Linked DNA regions of Homo sapiens: regions 1, 2, 3, 4, 5 and 7 are each linked to region 6. The links are contacts of gene promoters, found by promoter capture Hi-C in blood cells and fetal thymus (Javierre and others, 2016). All regions are on one chromosome and are shown on one strand. Each heading gives the region's core, a stretch centred on a gene start or on the middle of the fragment in contact. The rest is flanking DNA. Distances are from core to core; before and after follow the strand shown. Region 1 overlaps HUS1 (HUS1 checkpoint clamp component). Region 2 has its middle 6.7 kb from the start of PKD1L1. Region 3 overlaps SUN3 (Sad1 and UNC84 domain containing 3). Region 4 has its middle 320 kb from the start of SNORD151. Region 5 overlaps PKD1L1 (polycystin 1 like 1, transient receptor potential channel interacting). Region 6 holds the start of TNS3 (tensin 3). Region 7 has its middle 4.6 kb from the start of UPP1.

Region 1 (2,700 bases), core at 176-2,675, 390 kb before region 6:
ATAGAGCACTCTTGGTAACAGTCTCAGATGTGATGCAGTGACTGTCTGCCATGTTTTTGTACAGAGCATGGAAAAGGCCCTTGAATCATAGGTGTAAATGTCCCTTAGAGGAGGGCCTCCTGCTGATTGCCTGAGTTATATTCCCCCTGGACCAATATAGGGGCATCTCAGCTGAAGTACCCTATTCCTTCTTGAGCCAAAAGAATGCCCACAGGGACATGGTTGCTGAGGTAACCAGAGGCAGGCATTCCATTCTTTAATTTTGCTTGAGCATCCTTGAGTTAGTGAAATAGAATTGGTTTTCTTTTTATATTTTTAAAAGAACTTTATTCAGAAAATTGTAAAATAGTATCCCATAGTTTTTGAGCATGCATGTGTTCTAGAGTTAGTTATGGGGCCCTTGTCATTACTAGAGTATATTAATATTTTTAATACTTGTGCTTTTTTCTCATTGGTTTTGTAGGTTAGTATTTATTTACCAGTCTTGAAGACTATGAAGAGTGTTGTGGAAAAAATGAAAAACATCAGCAATCACCTTGTAAGTCACAACTTCTTTAGAAAAGAACTCTGAAGTATTTGGTGGGACGGCGTGGGTTCTCCAGCTCACCCTGCAGCAGTCCATGCAGGTGGGCACCTCCTAACCGAGTTCCCACTTATGAGGACCTGGCCTGGTGCTGAGAACCTGCAGATTGCTAGTTGGATTTAGAAACCTATTCCAATACTTTTCAACTCTAATTCTTTGAGGAAAGCTTTTATATTTGCCTTTAATCTGCCTGTTTTTCCTCTTATATTTTGTATGAAACATTGTATCTTTCTTTTTTTTTTTTTTTTTTGAGACAGAGTCTCACTCTGTCGCCCAGGCTGGAGTGCAATGGCGCCATCTCACCTCACTGTAAGCTCCGCCTCCCGGGTTCATGCCATTCTCCCACCTCAGCCTCCCGAGTAGCTGGGACTACAGGCGCCTGCCACCATGCCTGGCTAATTTTTTGTTTCGTATTTTTAGTACAGACGGGGTTTCACCGTGTTAGCCAGGATGGTCTCGATCTCCTGACCTCGTGGTCCGCCCGCCTAGGCCTCCCAAAGTACTGGGATTACAGGCGTGAGCCACCGCGCCCGGCTGGAACATTGTATCTTTTACCTGCTAACGTGCCCGTATTTTTCTGTGAGTCACTGATATGACTGACAGTGAGTTTGGAGTTTCCTGTCTGCGTGCCAAGTGTCTTTCAGTGAGCCAGGGACAAAGATATGCCACACCATAGCAGCCTTTATTCCAAGCACACCTCACACCAAGCTAGGGGGCACTTTTATATTTCTGTTTATTTTCTGTTTATTTTGTGGAAGTCTCCTATGGCCACATGGCTCGAAATGTTACAGTGTGTGACAGTGGTGGGAAATGTGTAGGTTATCCTCATTCATACCTGGGGTTATTGTGAATTCTTCCTTCACTCACTGCCCCTCCCTCCTCCCCCTGCTCCCTCCTATCCTGCTCCAAAAAACACCCTTGGTTATGTCCCTGAATCTTCTAAAAACCACTGTCCACCTGATGAAGCATAAACTTTTGATCTTGACAGTGTACCAGGCCACCTTTATAGCCACATCTCTGTTGTATTGCCACACCCTCCCTGCAGAACGAGGCTGGGTTCTGGTATTCCCCCACAATGCCTCTTCTTTTTTGTTCAGTTTCTTTGCCATTTGACACATGGCTTCTTCTCTCCATCTCCCTGGAAGGCACTTAGCCATTCTCATGCTTCATCACAGACCTTTCCCCACCACCCCTCTGGAAGCTCCTCCATGGAGCTGAGCTGTCCAGTGTACATGGTAAATCACCTGCTAAGATCTCTGAAGGTCTCGTGAACCACCAGCTTCTTGATAAAGGAAACCCCATCTTAATCATCTTTGTGTCCCAGCTGCCCAGTGTGGGATTGCCACTCAGTAGGCAGCAATAAGTGTTGCATGGATCTGGAACAAAATTTAGCTTCAAGAGGTCTTTGAAATCACAAAAGTATTTTGAAGCCTAGAAAATGTACATTTGACTGTTTTTTTCTAGAGTTCTGCACACTAAGAGCAATGCTGTCATTGGACCTGGGTAACTCAAAGCTTTTCCTTCATAACTTAATCTATAAAATCTGTTTTCCATGAAGCAGTGTGCACTGTGCTGACGTTGGTGTCACCTGTGACTGCAGTGATGCTGATCCAGTTGTCAGGCTGGCTTCATCTGGGGATACCCTGGGGACTTCCAGAGAAATTCAGAGAGGCCCAGGAGAGAAAAGACAGGGCTGTTAATTGAAGGATGGCATTTGTTTGTTCTTTCTGTTCAATGAAAATGAGTCAGCAAGGTAGAGAGGTAGAAGGGTAGCTTAGAATCATCAGAGGTGTTTTGTTTTCTCTTTTTTGGAGTTTAAAAAAACATAGAAATATTGTGGAGAGGCTACTACGATCTGGAATTACTAAATGGAAAGTTATCAAGTTACTGTAGCAAAGTACATAATGAGGTCTTCCTGGGTATCCAGAATTCTGTATCTGAATATTACAGGCAGTAGAATTAAGGAAAATGGGTAGACTTAACACACTAAAAATGCCCACCTTCCCATTAGAGATGCCCAGTTACTTCCTTTCATTAAATGCGAGGTGTGACTGATGGGGTGGGTTGTATGTGACTCATGCAGGAGCAGAAAAAGAAGCAAGAACTGGAGGGAATTG
Region 2 (2,700 bases), core at 73-2,572, 370 kb before region 6:
GGTTCCCTGCAGTCCACTCTGTGATTTGTTTGTTGACTGCTGTGAGCCCCACCCCCATTCTTTGTTTCTAATTTACACCTAGCAGGCTAACCCTGCTGGCACCTGCAGTGCTTCCAGGGGGAAAGGACCATAGTGTGCCCCTGTGAAGAGTCTCAGAATGGTGCGGAAGGTGAATGCCCACCTCCCGCTCTCTTTTCCCACTGTAGAAACTGATTCCAGAGAAATTCTCCAAGTGCGGTGCTATGTGGGCTTGCGGGAGAGGTGTTATGATCAAACAGAACCATTCTCTTTACCCTCTGTTCATGGTTTTTCTTGGCTCTGTGGTCCAGTGAGTTGTCACAGCTTCACTCCCAATTTCTGGGATATTCAGGGCAATAATCTTGCCACTGGGTATTTGCTAGTTGAAATTATGTGGTAGGGAGAGAAGCCAGTAAGCTTCACTTCTCCGTTTGGCTGATGTCACTCTCGAATTCTGTACTTTCATACGGATTGTAATAGGGAGGGTCTAAAAGGAAGCTTCAGTTTTGGATTTTTAGAGCTTCTTCTAAGTACAATTGTTGAATCAAGAGGTAAAAATGGTATGTTATAACTGGAAATACGCTGAGATTAAAAAGGAGATAAATTAGCCCCATTGGGACAGTGCTATTGGGAATGTGAATTGATACCACTTTCCTGGAGTCTAGTTTAGTATTTATTTTATATGTAATGCCTGAAAAGATGTGTGTCTCCTTTGACTCAATACTTATAGGAATTTACACAAAGGTTATAATCAAAGATTATAGAACTGTTATACTGGAAAAACACGAAATATTCTAATTATGAATTAATTGGGGATTGGTTAAATAAACTATGGTTTGATATGCTCTAAAAATAATGTTACAGAAAAAAGTGTACTGATATGGCAAAATGTATGACTTATAGTTAAAAAAGCAGGTTAGATGTTGATAGATACAGTATGATAGAAAAAGATCAGGAAGGTATATGCTGACATTTAAATCTGGATATTTATGAGTGTTTTTTTTATTTCAATCTTTGTACATGCATGTATTTTCTAGAAATTGTATTACTATCTTTGTAATAAAGTAAATTATTTTTAAGGGACTAAATAATAAATATTTGTTACTTGAGTGCCTTACACATTCACTCGGCAATTACAGTTTCCCGAACATTGGACTTCAGACTCTTTTCACAGCACATCCTTATTTTCATAAATAGAAAATTAAACTTTTTATTTGTCATTTTGATGTTATGCCAGGTTTAGAATACTGGAGTCTCGATCAATAAGGTGGCACCACATTGCAGAATCATCTCTTTTTACCATGGGCCCAACATGGATGAGGATCAATCAGTGTCTGTAACAGTCTTTGCAGTGAGGGCAGAGTGACCAGTTATTAAGTTGTAGGCTAAAAGATCCTGGGAGAGACCAGCCACGCACAGGACTTCACAAATCACTGGACAGTAAGGAAGATGACCCTGTGGGTAGCACGAGAAAATGTAGCCGCCTTCCTGGAATCTAGTTCCTATTCGCCTGTAGCACCAAATGAACCAATCTTACAACCATAACCAGCATATGTAGCTTGGAAAGATGCTGAATTCCACACCCTAAGATCTGGGAATGGATTTTGGCTCTTTCCAGCGTCCTAGTCTGGGGCAAGTCATTCAGCCTCTTGAGACAGTTTCTCTAACAGTGACTAAACATGCTGACCACCTGTGGTGGTTGGAATAAGAGAAAATAGCATTACTCATTGGCAGGTTTCTAAATTGGGAAGCGTAAAATGTGAGCATTTATAAGCGGTCTTAGTCTGTGTTGTGTGGCTATAGCTGATTCCCACAGACTGAGTCATTTATAAAGAAAAGAGTAATTACAGTTTTAGGGGCTGGGGTGTCCAAAGTAAGGTAAGGGGATGCATCTGGTGAAGGCCTCCTTGCTGTATTGTCCCCTGGCAGAAGGGCACAAGGCAGAAGTGGGTGCAGGAGACAGAAAGGAGGCAAGAGGGGCAGACCATCTTTGATAACAACTCATTCTCCTGGTAACAGCATTAAGCCATCATGAGAGCAGAGTCCTTGTGACTTCATCACTTCTCATCAGGCTCTGCCTCCCAACACCACTGCAGAGGACCAAGCTTCTAACTTATGAATTTAGGGGACACACTTAAACCATAACATAAGCCTTACCAAACAAAACAAGCAAAAATTGGCTTTTTTCTCAGTGAAAATACGCTGCTAACCAGAGGCTGCCAGTTCACGGCAGCACACAGTGCAGACTGGGTGACTTCCATGGCTCTTCCGAGGCTCATAGAGGTTTGGTTGGCGTGTCTTAGCGCACCATGACATCATCCAGTGACCTTAGGGCTCAAACCTTGTGACCAGACAGCCCTGTGTTTCTAACCTCAAGCTATTTAAAAATTTAAAGGAGGCTACATATATACACTAACCACTTTTTACCATACTAGTTTCAATTTAAAATTATCTTTTTGGTTATCTTCCTTGCTGAGAGAAAATTCTAGTGAAGCCTTCTGGGGGAGGATCCTCCCCTTACAGGGGAAGAAAAACATGACCAGACAGAAGTGAGAACCAGAACAGAGTGGAGGGCATCTACCTTGTGTTTTTGTCTTTTCTCTGTTCACTTCTTTCACTGTTTGCAAATAAACCCTGCCAAGGAGGCAGAGCACATAAGGGGCCCTCGTGAGGGAAGTGCTT
Region 3 (2,700 bases), core at 161-2,660, 410 kb before region 6:
ACTGACTACAAGGGAGCAGCAAAAGAAATGTCCAGAATAGGTAATCTACAGGGACAGAAAATAGATTAATAATTGCCAAGGCTTGGGGAGAGAGGTTGAGGGAAATGGGGAATGACAGCTAACCACTATGGGTTCCTTTTGGGGTTGACTAAATGTTCTAAAATTGATTGTGGTGGCCGTGCAACTCTAAGAATATAATACAAAACCCTGAATCATACACTGTAAATGAGTGAATTGTATAGGATGTGAATTATATCTTAATAAAGCTGATTTAAATCTTTTAATGAATGAGAAAATGAATAAATATGAATTATTTTCAAAATTCCACCACACTAAAATTTTAATTTTTTTCTGGAAAGGATTATGGGGATGGGGTATTCAGTCCCCACATTAGCAGGTGAAAGTGTAGATTCTGTCCAGCCAGTTGGTCGAGTAGGAATAGTGAGCGGGCAGTCAGAATTAGCCTTCAAAAACGAAGTACACATAGGGTTTCCAGATAAAATGAAGGGAGCCCAGTTAAATTTAAATTTCAGACAAATAGCAAATAATCTTTTAGTATAAATATATCCCAAATATTGTATGGGACATGACTACTACTAAAAAAATTATTCTTTGTTTACCTGAAATTCAAATTTAAATGGCTGTCTTTTATTTTTATTTGCCAAATCTGGCAACTCTAGGAACTCAATTACTATTTCAAAAAGTGTGTCATCTTAGGAAAAGTATAGATAATCAGCTGGGCGCGGTGGCTCACGCCTGTAATCCCAGCACTTTGGGAGGCCGAGGTGGGTACATCACTAGGTCAAGAGATCGAGACCATCCTGGCCAACATGGTGAAACCCTGTCTCTACTAAAAATACAAAAACTTAGCCGGCGTGGTGGCGGGCGCCTGTAGTCCCAGCTACTTGGGAGGCTGAGGCAGGAGAATCACTTGAACCCAGGCAGCGGAGGTTGCAGTGAGCCAAGATTCCACCACTGCACTCCAGCCTGGCGACAGAGTGAGACACCGTCTCAAAAAAAAAAAAAAAAAAGAAGGAAAGAAAAAGTAAGGATAATCAGATATTTGATGAGGCACATGTATTTTTAGTGTTGTGGTGTGTTATGCAAATGCAATTTGTAAAAGCAATTTGCATTTTCTTTATTTATTCTGTATAAAATACATTTTGCTTCTAAAATGAAGTAACCTGAAGGGATAATGTTTGATGAGTATATTTCATATTTCTTTGATTAAAATAGAGTTCAATGAATCTGCATAATTGCTACAAATGTAACTTGAAGGACATTTGGAGCATTGTTGGTTTTCTGCTTTTTTTGTTATTGAGTGAATGGGAATGACAGGAAGTCTCATTTATCACATGAGCTGTTAAAATATAAAGATCTATATACGTTTTTAGGTGATACAGAATCCATATAATATTCTCATCTCTAATTTACTTGCCTCAAAATTCAATTTTTTTAATCATACATTTTGTGAAACTAAACAGAACAAACTAGTTTTCTTCAAAATGACAAAATTTCAGTGGTAGTGAAAACTGTCATACTTTTCCTATCAATTCCTGAGTATGAATTTTACCTCGCTTATAATTTGCCCAGTAATAATTTTCTAGAGACATTGTTAAAATTCAAATGATGTGTTTTGAATTGTGTATGTTGTTTCTTTATTTTACAACTTACTTTATAATTTTAGGAGCCTCCATCATTGAAGCTGGGACCTCAGAAAGTTATAAAAATAATAAAGCAAAATTGTACTGGCATGGGATAGGTTTCCTAAATCATGAAATGCCTCCAGATATTATTCTTCAGGTAAAGCTAAATTAAGAATCACTTATTTCTATTTTAGAATTTTGTTCTTATTATTTATCATGAAAATGTTAATTTTAAAAATGGAGGCAATATAAGAGTGTCTGAACTTGTCACAGAATCTGAAATCATCTCATTATATTTTTATAGTCAGTACACTGCATGAATTATGTCTTATTTTATGGTCAGTAAACTATGATTAATTATTTACTTATTTATCATTTTAAGATTAGTAAACTAGATTATTTTATTTTCAAGTAAAACATATACATTCCATGTCTTTTCTGTAAGTTGATTCTGTGACCATCCTTTTCCATTGAAAACTTCAGTCATTCAACAAACATTTGTTGAAAGTACTTGTCTCCTAAGTGCCAGTACTGTACTATGTTAAGTGCTATTCAGACCACATGTTCTTAAGTCTAATTATAACAGGAGAAATCTCCAAGTAAGATCCCCACCAAACTTTTCAGTTACAGTCTAAAGGCAGTAGCCATCAATAGACAGCAGAGCACCTCTCAACTTTGATCCATACACCTGAAGTTAGTTGCAAATTTAGAACTTTCAGGGGTAAAACCCACTGATCTTATTCCAGGCTGTAGTTTATATCTACAAAGTAGTAGACCTCATTTTTCTTCTCTACCACCATAACCACCACCACCACCCCCATCTCCATCAAAACCCTCATCTTCATCACCACCACCAGCACCATCTTTCTTCATCACAACCTCCATGTCCATCACCATCACCGCCACCACCATCACTGCCACCACAGCCACCATCACTGCCACCACCACCACCACCTCACCATCTTTCTTCATCACCACCCCCATGTCCATCATCATCACCACCACCACTATCACTGTCACCACCACCACCACCATCACTGCCACCACCACCACT
Region 4 (2,707 bases), core at 199-2,698, 440 kb after region 6:
AATAAGAAATATGTTTAATCTTATCAGGATTTTCCACTCCGTTTTCTGTTTTGTTTCATAGATGGAGGGTAGTTAAATATATCTCTACTTTGAGTTTGAAAATACGCTTTAGGAATTGTATCTTATCAGTAAGTGCTTTACAAACACCATTTATTATCTGATTTGAAATATTGCTAATCCATTTGAACAATCTCATTTATCAATGGTATGTCGAGGAAATTTTGTGCCATATATGAATATATATGTGTAAGATTTTTCTCAGTATTGTTAAAAACAGTAATAAGTTGAATTCAGCATAAATATCCAGCAACAGAGGATTTTTAAAATAAAATATGACACATCCAAACAATGAAATGCTGTGTAGCCACTAAATAATTTCTATGGAAATCTCTTTGGTTTATATTTTTGTATCTTTTCCCTATGTATCAATACTGGAACATAATGTTAAAAGTGCTTTTCTCCCATGATGGGATTTTAACTAATCTTAATGTATTTATTATACTACAGATAATATTTTCTGTAGTTTTAAAATTTAAAAAAAGTAACATAAAAATACAAATACCACTAAAGATAAGGAAAGAATTGTTCTTAATAACTGCAATCAAGAAAAGTCATACAAATGGCATTAATCTTTTCTACAGCTCCACTTACTTGCTAAATAAAATTTACTTATTTGTATTAATCTTTTCTGCAGCTCCACTTACTTGCTAATAAAGCAACCAAATAAAATAGTTGTTGCATGTAGTAGAAGCAGAGAAAAAGAAAGCTTTTATTCCAAATGGAGCCAAACTTGGCCTAGCCCAGTCTGCATTTGCATACTTGCTTCACACATAGCCTTGCTTCACACATAGCCTTGCTTCACAAAAGTCCTCTTGGCATTGTAAATATCATGGTTCTCTTTTCAAGGACACTCTGTGTGAGAAGTACTTTCTTGGCTCTGGACACTAAATAATTATTAACTGACATGTTGCACTTAATAGTTTGTGGTCTCAGCTCTTGTTTATATAAAACGTTTGACCACAGCTCTAAAACACCTCACCATGTAGGTGGGGAACTTGTCATAGGAACTCAGATGGTAGGACCCGTTGACTGGTTACTGCTAGCCCTTGGCAGCTTTGTCCTCACTTGCTGCCACCCCCCCTCCCCGCCAGGGCCCTGCAACAGACACTAGGTGCTCCTATTTAGAGTTGGTCATGGGTAAGGAAAAGATAGATTTGGCCACAGTCTCTCAATACATAGAGACACTTTATGTAGAAAAATCTCTTGAACCTATTAGGAGTACTGCATGAGCAAAAAGTGACTCATGACCAGATATTTCTGAGGATGGCAAAGGGGCAAGTGAGAGAAGCTGGATTAAGTTATTCCCCAGTGAAGAATATTACTTGTGTTAACAAAGCGTAAATTTTCTGACACGTGACTTGCAAAGGAAAATGCTATTGATTAGCTGAAGAACTCCTGAAGATTGTAGCAAAACTTTAATAGTGTAATAATCTTTGAAGATTTTTTGAAAGAACACATACAGAACAAGAGAAAGGAAGTTCTCCCAAGTTTGACTCAGGTACATCATGTGGTGCTACCATTCACTCCTGTATATGGTGGTATCTATATTTGCTTTGGTCTCCCTACATTGAACACATTTTGTGGCAATTTGCTTTTATCTCTATTTATACGAAACTTCTGAAAGAATTCCCTGCATGTGCTGCCTCTGCTGATTTCCTCCTGAATTCTCAACAAAACTGAGGCCGATCTCTATACCCTATCACATAACCACGGGACTGAAAATGCTCCCTCAAAGGTAACTAATGACTTTCTGATTATTCCGCTTCTTTTCATTCTTTCTCATATTCAACTTTCGCGTATCGACTTACAATTATGATCATACTTTTCTTCATGAAACTCTCTTTACTTTGGTGTACAAAACTCTGGTTTGTTTTTCAGTTCTTCTCCTCTTCCCTTTTCCCCGTCCTTCTTTTCAACATACCCTTTAAATAGTACTGTCCTTAGATTTCTGACTCTAGCTTCTTCCCTTTCCATATTGTATATCTCTCCGGGTTAGCTCAGCCTCTCTCTTCACTTCAACTTCCATCTTCATCTCATAAGTGACAAGTATACACCTGTCACCCAAGCTTTCTTGTGACACCAGGTGAAAACTTTCATTTGCCTGCATGACATTTCTACCAGGACATTCCATCACAGCTCAGAATAGATCTGTCACCCTCCCTAGAAATGTATTGCTTTGCTCACAGTCACTATCTCAGCCAATGGCAGCCCCACCCTGAGGCATCCCTCCTGCTGAAAACATCCCACAGCCATCTCTCTTACAACCCCATCTTTTCACTAACTCTGGTTCATTTTACTTCTGATATGCTCCTGGTTTTATCTGCTTCTTTGCTCATTACCAAGCCCTATTTCTAACCATTACCTGTTTTCATCTGGATTACTATTAAAGCCTTTGGTTTCATCTTTCTGCCTACCCTGTACTCCCTCCTCAAATGAGAAGTGCAATTGCTCCAATATATTTCCCACACAAGGCCCAATCATGTCACTCTTCCCACACACTTTTCTGGTTCCCTGTTACCTGTAATATATAGCATAAACTCTAGCTGGGCCCTCCTTCAGAGCTCTTCCTGCTGGTGCCCTACCCCACTCCCCACCCCTCCTGTGTTGCTCCTTCACTTGTGTGCAACTTTGTCACCCCATCCCATTG
Region 5 (2,700 bases), core at 125-2,624, 330 kb before region 6:
GGAAACTTACAATCATGGCAGAAAGCGAACAGGGAACACACACGTTACATAGCCGGAGTAGGAGCAAGAGGGGGGGAGGTGCCACACACTTTTAAAAGACCAGATCTCATGAGAACTCACTATCATGAGGACAGTACCAAGTGGCAGGGATTGGGGGTGACACTAAACCATTCATGAGAAATCTGCCACCATCATCCAATCACCACCCACCTCCTCACCGCCAGTGCTGAAGGCCCAACCTTCAATACTGGGGAATGCAATTCGACATGAGATTTGGTGGGGGCACAGATCCAAATCATATCAACCTGCTTTCCCACATTAGTCTTAGTTCCGGTTCTAGAGCTAATATATTCGGTCCTCACTCAGCTTTTTTTTGGCATGGTGTTCCTGTTTGGTTGTCTGAAGTTTGTCCTCTAGTAGATTTTTTTTAGGAAAATTCATGCAATAAGCTTCCTCTAAGTTCCCATATTCAAAACTGTTGCTGCCATTATGTTGGAACGACAGTGTGCTGGCTCTGGACTCCTTGGACACATGTTCTTTTCCTGGGGAATCTGGTTGTCTTTCCATTCTGTTCTCTCCTGTAACCATGGTTCTCCAAGTTTGGCCCAGCAGCATCATGACCACCTGAGACTGGCTTAGAATACAGACTCTCAGGCCCACTGCAGACCTACTGAATCAGAAATTCAGCTGGTGGCCCTGACACTCTGTCTGAAGAAGCCTCCCTGAAATTCTCCATTCTGTCTTTCTTACCTTGTGGTGATTCCAAAGTCAGCCTTCTTTTTTCCCCGTCATTGATTAATGTTTTTCTGTGATTGTCATGAGAATTATTTCTTTTCTTTTTTTTTTTTTTTTTTTTTTTGAGACACAGTCTCACTCTGTTGCCCAGGCTGGAGTACAGTGGCATGATCTCGGCTCACTGCAACCTCCATCTCCTGGGTTCAAGTGATTCTCATGCCTCAGCCTCCCAGGTAGCTAGGATTACAGGCATACACCACCACGCCTGGCTGATTTTTGTATTTTTAGTAGAGATGGCATTTCACCATGAAGGCCAGGCCAGGCTCAAACTCCTGACCTCAAGCGATCCACCCGCCTCAGCCTCCCAAAGTGCTAGGATCACAGGTCTGAGCCACCGTGCCCAGCCGGTAGTTATTTCTTTATTTGCAACTCCAGCAGCTTTGCCAGCACGTGTCTAAGTGCTGGCCACTCTGGGTCACCTTTCTCCAGCACATGGTGTACCTTTTCAATGTGTCCTTTGTTTCAGGAAAGATTTCTTGAATTAGATCTTTACATTGTTTCTATTCCAATATGTCAGCTTTCTTTTTGGGAGACTGGCATACATCTATTAGTTCTCTTTTGTCTTTTCAAATCTTTTTTGTTTTTCCTTTTTCATCTGATCCGCTTTCCTCATATTTTCCTCTGCATCCCTTCTTTTGTGTTCTACACTTTCCATTCTCCATTATACTCTAAAATGTTGACTTTGTTTCCTTCCAAGACCAGATGCTCTCTGGTCTTCCATCTCAGAAGATAACGATTCCTCAAGTTGTTCAGTCCTGTTCTTGTGGACAGTGTTTTTCTGATAAATTATCTTAATCTATTATGAGTATTTCCTGAATTTTCCCTCTTGACTCTTATAGTATCTTGTACATGCTGAATGGTCTTTTCTCCCTCCTTTTCTCCCTTTATCCTTCCCTCCCTTCTTCTTTCCTGCCTTCCTTCCTTTCTTCCTTCCTTTCTTTTTTTTTTTTTCTTCACAGCATTACTCATAATTTAAAGAGTTGCATTTTTTTCTGAACTAACTGCTGGTGGAGTGTGTGTGTGTGTGTTGCGTACACACATGTATGCGTGTTGATGATATTCACAGCCACTGAGCCCTTTGGCAACTGAGTTCTCACTTTAGGACGTTTTCTGTTTTCTTCCTTCAATACGGTTCCTGCTCATGCATGCTTGATATTTGCCGCTTTTAGCAGTTTTTGCGTCTATTTTGTATTCTGAACATGCTAGCTACCTCCTAGTTTCACTAAACAAAGAGAGAAAAAGTTTTTATTTTTATTCACTGTTTTCCTTTTTGTTTTTGGATTAACTCCTAGAAGATTAAGTAGAAGGCTAAGTATATCTCTATTTCACATCAGGACTTGCTCTATTATAATAATTTTAAGCATCTGCAACTTTGATACATATTCATTGGTTTCTTTTGTTGTTTTATGAATAAAGTAAGGAATTGGTATTTGTATTAGGCCATTCTCCAATTGCTATAAAGAAATACTTCAAACTAGGTAACTTATAAAGAAAAGAAGCTTAATTGGCTCACGGTTCTGCAGGTTTTACAGTAAGCACGGGTGCCGACATTTGCTTAGCTTCTGGGGAGGCTTCAGGAAGTTTACAATCATGGTAGAAGGCTACAGGGCAGCAGGCACAGCACACAGTAAAAGCAGAAATGAGAGAGAGTGAGATGCCACACACTTTTAAATAGCCAGATTTCAAGAGAAGTCACTCACTATCGCAAGGACACCACCAAAGGATGGTACTAAACCATTCATGAGGAATCCACTCCCATCATCCAGTCACCTCCCGCCAAGCTCTACCTCCAACTTTGGGTATTACAATTCGACACATTAGATTAGGGAGAGGTAAACATCCGAACTATATCAGTATTACATCTTTTATCAGGGGTTAAGTCTAAAGTCAACTTGAGGCTAGGTG
Region 6 (2,752 bases), core at 146-2,645:
TAGAGTGTAGGAAAAATGCCTGCCTCATCTCTAGGGGCTGGGGCATGGTGCTCATGAAGCCTTTGCCTGGGAATAAATACCCAGATCAGTCTGGGGATGAGAAATGACACTACCTTCCAGAGCACAGCAGGGGTTGTTCAAGTCTTCCAGAAAAGCAGCTCTTGTTTCTCCTCATGTGGTGGGAGTGGAGTCAGAGCGTGGCTCAGGCCCCACATTCTCAGCTGTTTGGATCTGGGGACTCGAAGTTTCTGGTGGTTACTTCTGAAAGTCTTTTCCAGGATAATTATTCTTGCTCGGTTTCTCTGCCATCTCTGACAGGCTGTTTTCCCTGCTTCCCCCGCTGCCCTGAAGGGGCCAGAGGAACAGGGCAGGACCCCAGGGCTGCGGATGGGTTAGGCAGCTCTGTTCCCGAATCCAAAGCAGTTCTTGGTGACTGTCCTCCAAGACTTGCCCTGGACCCTGCTCCGGGTGGGATTCTGAGACCGCCTGCTCCACGTGGCAGATGAAATCTAGGTCTCTTCTGTGAGAGGCTGGCGGGGAGGATGTTTTCCTGGAAAGGACCACAGGACAAACCGCTGATGAAATTTCTCTTGTGACCTCCCTGGAGGAAGAGCACTTCTGATTTCTGCAAACTTTTTCCATTCCCCCGATCTCACAAATGGGGAAACTGAGGCTAAGCGACTGAGTTCAGGGCCATCTGAATCTCAGGGATGGACAGTCAGGATGGACAACCTATAGGCCTTTCCTCCTCTGAGAATCTCTCTGCTCGGGATCGTTTTTCTGGTTTCCCCTGGCTTGCCTAAATTCTGCTCATTTGTCCCGGCGCATTTTAAGAAGTCATGTGACTTCTAAAGACTTCCCTGACCTCCTCCCTTCATTAGCTGGGTATTTCAGGGGCTTCTACGGCACCCTAGGCTTTCCGGAGCGGCTGTGCTCCTTTATGTATGCGCGACTCCCACTAGGCTATGAGCTACAGGAGGGAGGGTAGGTCTTGCTCCCGGAGAGCACCTTAATCACAGGCGCTGAATGAAAGAATGAACTGGTTGTGCAGGAACCAGGATCCGAACCCGCCTCCCCAGGTACTCTAACACCGGCCCGGCGGAACCTGCAAGCCTCCAGACCACTTGGAGCCTGGGCTGCTCAATGGGTCTGATAATTCCAGGTCCTCTCTGCGGCCAGCGAAGGGAGGTCCCAGGGCGCACCTCGGCAGGGCGGGGGACCCCGGTGAAGGGCGCCTGGAGGCGCGCTGCATTGTTAGGGTGATGAGGCCAGGTGACCCGCCAGGCTCGGGGCGCGGGCGCGGGGGCCGGCCGTGGCGATTGCCCGCGCCGCCTCGAGGGGGCCCTGCCGCGGGCGCCGGCAGCCAGCCAGGAGGACGGGCCCGCCCGCGCGCTACTCGGAGCCCAGCCTCGTTGCGGCCATCGCCCTGCCGGACCGCGCCTCAGGCTCCCCCAGGTACTGGGGCCGGGGAAGGAGGAAACGCGGCCACGCGCCGCGGTCCTCTTTGTTTCGGGCCCGGCGCGGGCTTTCGCGCTCCGGGCGCAGGAACGAGGCTTGGGGAGCACAGAGATCTGGAGCTGGGGCGCGGGGACTGAGTTCGGGGAGCGCGGAGACAGAGTTCGGGGAGCGCGGGGTACGGGAGCTCAGGGCGCGGGGATGGGGTCACGGGAGAACCCAGGTTAGGGAGCGCGGGGACCCGGTTGGGGGCGCACGGGCAAGGGGTTTGGTGCGCGCGGGTACGGGGTTTGCGGCGCGTGGGGGGCGGGGGCTCGGCAGGAGTCCCAGGACAGGGGCTGGGGCGCGGGCCAGCTTCGCCGGAGTCCGGGGACGGGGGCGCTGACTGGCTGGGTTTGGGGACTGGCTGGGGCGCAGGACCACTCGAGTGGGACCCGTGGCGCCCGGGCGCCCTGGACTGAGGGCAGAGACCGGAGCAGCTATGTCGCAGTCGCTGTCGGGACCGAGCGGACTTTGCTCCCTAGGACTCCGTCTCGAGACTCCAGGTGGAGAGCGCAGCTAGGGGCTTCAATGGGCAGGCTCAAGACCCTTCTCCTACTTTTTCTAGGCAAGCTCTCCAGTGCGTCTCTTTCCCTTTCCCTTTGGTGGGTGGGAGGCAGGGGGTCTTTACGCGCTTCCTTTTTTTCCCTGAAGGACGGGACCTCGGGGTGGGGGGATATTCTGGGGTGGGGGGTGCTGTCCCAGGCTGGGGGCCAGCTGTGTGGCATGTGCCTCCTGGCACGCGGGAGCTGTCGCTGACAAGCAGGAGGAGGGAGGGTCCCGGACGGCCCAGGGGTCTCTGTGTCGGTGCTGTGCAGCGGCCTGACATGTGAGTCCCGGGTCCTTTGCTTGGAGTGATTTGAGTGTCTGTGGCGGGAAGAGATTCAGGCGTTCCTCAGGCATTCTCCAGACAGTGTCAGCAGATGACCCGAACTCCAGCGTGGTTGAAAAACTCAAAGCGCCATCAGGGTGTGGGGCCAGCAGAGAGCACTACTGAGGGTGGTCACAACCCCCTGGGAAGCCCCCAGGCTTCCTTGGGGCGCATTCACACACTTTGATCTTCCGGGTTGGCTTTCCCCCCATTTTTTTCACTATTTGAATGCATGATCATGGAGGACTCTGAAAATATACTGAAAAGTATGAATGCAGAACTCATTGTATTAATATTGCATGGCCCTTCTGAACTAACCAACCCTTTGACATTTTAGATTTTCTTGAGGCTTTGGTCTGTGCATATTAATTTTTTAAATTGCTTTCA
Region 7 (2,715 bases), core at 25-2,524, 500 kb before region 6:
GGAGGGAAGGGGCTGAGAGGCTGAAGGCCAGGCCACACCAGATAGTGACACACCACTGCCCTTCAGGTTTCCCAAATCTAAGTAACTTCAAACTCTTTGAAATTCTCCCAAAGCTAATGTGTCTACCTAAAAGAAAGATGAGACAAAATTAACATAGAGAGTTTATTTGTGCCCAGGTTGAGGACTGTAGCCCAGGACACACTTCTAAGTTGCCATGGGGAGTGCTCCAAGAACAAAAAGGAGGCTCAAGTTTTTAAAGAAAAAAGAACAACTCAGGAGATGGGGCGATTGCAGAGTTGTCAGGAATCCTCATTGGTTTACAGAAATAACATTGGTTAGTGATTGCCCACACAGTGTTGAACTATAGGGTGGATGGCATCTTATGGCTAATTGGCCTCAGTTATTCTACAGCCACATAGCAAGTGGCTTCAAGAGGTAACCACTTAGCTGAAGGGGAAGTGAGCCATGACTGCTGTTCTGTTCTAAATGTTCTCTGGGCCTGATAATTTAAAGGCTCACCTTCCTCAGGAAAAGAAATGTGTTTGTTGTTTGTTTGTTTGTTTTCTTTCTCAGATAATATTTTAGAGATAGTAGCTGAGGCTTCTTCTCTGTTTGTCCTCACTTCCCAATTCCTCATGCAATTGCTCTTTTCTTTCCAATCCAGCAGCCATACAGATTTCTAGAACACCCCTCAGAGAGGGCAGAAATTGAGCCGCAGTGTTTTCTAAACAGCTGCCTGGTCCATTCGTGGGTCATGAAACCCATGTGGTGGGTCACAGCTAGCATTTTCATTGTCAGTGAGACAGAATGGAGTGAAAAAGCCTCTGCCTGCTTTCCACACCAGAGCACGTACTTTTATCACACGAACTATGACTCAGACACCACAAACCCAGACCAGGCCTCCAGGTCAGAAGTTGACTCCCCTGAGGCCTGTGGTGAGACTACAGCATGACTCAGACCCCTGAGATTTCAAATTCTTGCCAAAATACAAAAAGTGAGATTCTTCCCGCCAACTCTCACTCATCATATAGAGCTACTCAGTCCCCTGACCCACCCCCAGCTCAGATAGGCTCACAGTGGCAGGCCCACTCCCCTGGCAGCTGAGTCCAGTCTGATGAGCCATCACTTTCCCAGGTTGCTGGTCCTAGTAGTCAACAAAGAGAGTCAAACTCTGTAAAATATTTGAAGAGATTTATCCTAAGCCAAATGTGAATGACCATGGCCCGTGACACAGCAAACGGCCCTCAGGAGGTTCTGAGGACACGTGCCCAAGGCGGTCAGGGTGCAGCTTGGTTTTATATGTTTTAGGAATGCATGAGACAGCAATCAAATACATTTAAGAAATACATTGGTTTGGTCCAGAAAGGCAGGACAACTCAAAGCGGGGTAGGGGGCAGGGTTCAAGGCTATAGGTAAATTTAGACATTTTCTGGTTTACAATTGGTTGAGTTTGTCTAAAGACCTGGATTGATAGAAAGGAAATGTCCAGGTTAAGATAAAAGATTGTGGAGACCCAGGGTATTTGAAGTCTTATAGTGGCTGCCCTTAGAGACAATAGATGACAAATGTTTCCTATTCAGATCTTTAATAAAAGGTGCTAGACACTTAGTTAATCTCTTTTTTTTTTTTTTTTTTTTGAGATGGAGTCTCACACTCTCACCCAGGCTGGAGTGCAGTGGCGCGATCTCGGCTCACTGAAAGCTCCGCCTCCCAGGTTCATGCCATTCTCCTGCCTCAGCCTCCCGAGTAGCTGGGACTACAGGCGCCCGCCACCACACCCAGCTAATTTTTGTATTTTCAGTAGGGACAGGGTTTCACCATGTTAGCCAGGATGGTCTCGATCTCCTGACCTTGTGATCCACCTGCCTCGGCCTCCCAAAGTGCTGGGATTGCAGGCGTGAGCCACCGTGCCCGGCCAGTTAATCTCTTTAAAATTGGGAGAGCCTGGAAGAAAAAGCTCTAGCTATGTTAATAGAGATTTTTTACAGATGCAAATTTCCCCCACAAAGGACAGCTTTGCAGGGCCATTTCAAGATATGGCAAAGAAACATGTTTTGGGATAAAATATTTTTATTTTCTTCCCTGTCTCGTAATGTTATGCCAGAGTCAGGTTGGAAAGTAAGTCACGATATATAGGGTTAAATAAAACCCATCTCATGAGAATTCATTGTTTATAGGGCATGACTCCCCAGACCCCTTAGATAAGAATTGGCAAGATAAAAAAAAACGTCAGAGCTTAGTCCTCACAGTCAATGGCTAGCCTCCAAGGAAGTGGAGGATTCCCACAGGATTCCAGCTGCCCAGAGGCTTCACAGGCATATCCATGTTTACAGAAAAGATACAGGCCATGAGATATTTATACAAAACACTTAGGAGTCACAGCCAGCTACCCAACGGATGCCAATGGCTGACTGGTTCTTGCCCTCTCAGTCTTCACCTTTAGGAGAGGTGGTGCTGGCAGGATGTGGTATTTCTCATTCAGGGCCTCTGGAACCATCTAATCTAGGAAACACCCTTGTCTCATGCCTTGCTGCCACACAGCTCCATTTGCTCTCCAGTTTTCCAAGAAGCCTTCTACCTGACTGGTTTTGCTCTAAACCACTATCTCAGACTGAAATTCTTCACAAATTCCACCCAGGAATAATAAGGGTTCATTTCTGAACTGGACTCAGCATGCCATATGACCCATGGAGATATTTTCCTCATGAGATTTGA

The links. Contacts are between HindIII fragments. The CHiCAGO score rates a contact against its expected background, and 5 or more counts as called.
Region 1: a fragment that was not itself captured here is called in contact with the fragment with the promoter of TNS3 in region 6 in 1 of 17 cell types (M0 macrophages); the score reaches 5.0 in M0 macrophages.
Region 2: a contact is called between a fragment that was not itself captured here and the fragment with the promoter of TNS3 in region 6, in 3 of 17 cell types (M0 macrophages, M1 macrophages and M2 macrophages). The highest score is 6.8, in M0 macrophages.
Region 3: a fragment that was not itself captured here is called in contact with the fragment with the promoter of TNS3 in region 6 in 2 of 17 cell types (M0 macrophages and total B cells); the score reaches 6.0 in M0 macrophages.
Region 4: a contact is called between a fragment that was not itself captured here and the fragment with the promoter of TNS3 in region 6, in 1 of 17 cell types (total B cells). The highest score is 7.5, in total B cells.
Region 5: a contact is called between a fragment that was not itself captured here and the fragment with the promoter of TNS3 in region 6, in 3 of 17 cell types (total B cells, naive B cells and M2 macrophages). The highest score is 9.9, in total B cells.
Region 7: a fragment that was not itself captured here is called in contact with the fragment with the promoter of TNS3 in region 6 in 1 of 17 cell types (M0 macrophages); the score reaches 5.5 in M0 macrophages.

Annotation. Positions count from the first base shown.
Region 1 is chr7:47,973,451-47,976,150 of GRCh38, reverse strand. It overlaps HUS1 (HUS1 checkpoint clamp component), which reads left to right. Exons shown (of 8, transcript NM_004507.4): 5 at 464-538. Among named protein-coding and RNA genes, the nearest start is that of HUS1, 4.8 kb to the left of the region's middle. The HindIII fragment of the contact is 1,348 bases long and covers 752-2,099 here.
Region 2 is chr7:47,953,767-47,956,466 of GRCh38, reverse strand. It overlaps a transcript of PKD1L1 not described here. Among named protein-coding and RNA genes, the nearest start is that of PKD1L1, 6.7 kb to the right of the region's middle. The HindIII fragment of the contact is 1,607 bases long and covers 519-2,125 here.
Region 3 is chr7:47,995,134-47,997,833 of GRCh38, reverse strand. SUN3 (Sad1 and UNC84 domain containing 3) reads left to right here. Exons shown (of 10, transcript NM_001030019.2): 7 at 1,688-1,803. Among named protein-coding and RNA genes, the nearest start is that of HUS1, 17 kb to the right of the region's middle. The HindIII fragment of the contact is 4,013 bases long and covers 1-2,700 here.
Region 4 is chr7:47,145,696-47,148,402 of GRCh38, reverse strand. No RefSeq gene overlaps it. Among named protein-coding and RNA genes, the nearest start is that of SNORD151, 320 kb to the left of the region's middle. The HindIII fragment of the contact is 1,360 bases long and covers 769-2,128 here.
Region 5 is chr7:47,910,975-47,913,674 of GRCh38, reverse strand. All of the region lies in intron 8 of PKD1L1 (polycystin 1 like 1, transient receptor potential channel interacting), which reads left to right. Among named protein-coding and RNA genes, the nearest start is that of PKD1L1, 36 kb to the left of the region's middle. The HindIII fragment of the contact is 1,845 bases long and covers 452-2,296 here.
Region 6 is chr7:47,580,754-47,583,505 of GRCh38, reverse strand. It overlaps TNS3 (tensin 3), which reads left to right and starts at 1,395. Exons shown (of 31, transcript NM_022748.12): 1 at 1,395-1,455. RefSeq lists enhancers at 984-1,521, 1,522-2,059. The HindIII fragment of the contact is 9,706 bases long and covers 1-2,752 here.
Region 7 is chr7:48,083,324-48,086,038 of GRCh38, reverse strand. No RefSeq gene overlaps it. Among named protein-coding and RNA genes, the nearest start is that of UPP1, 4.6 kb to the left of the region's middle. The HindIII fragment of the contact is 4,999 bases long and covers 1-2,715 here.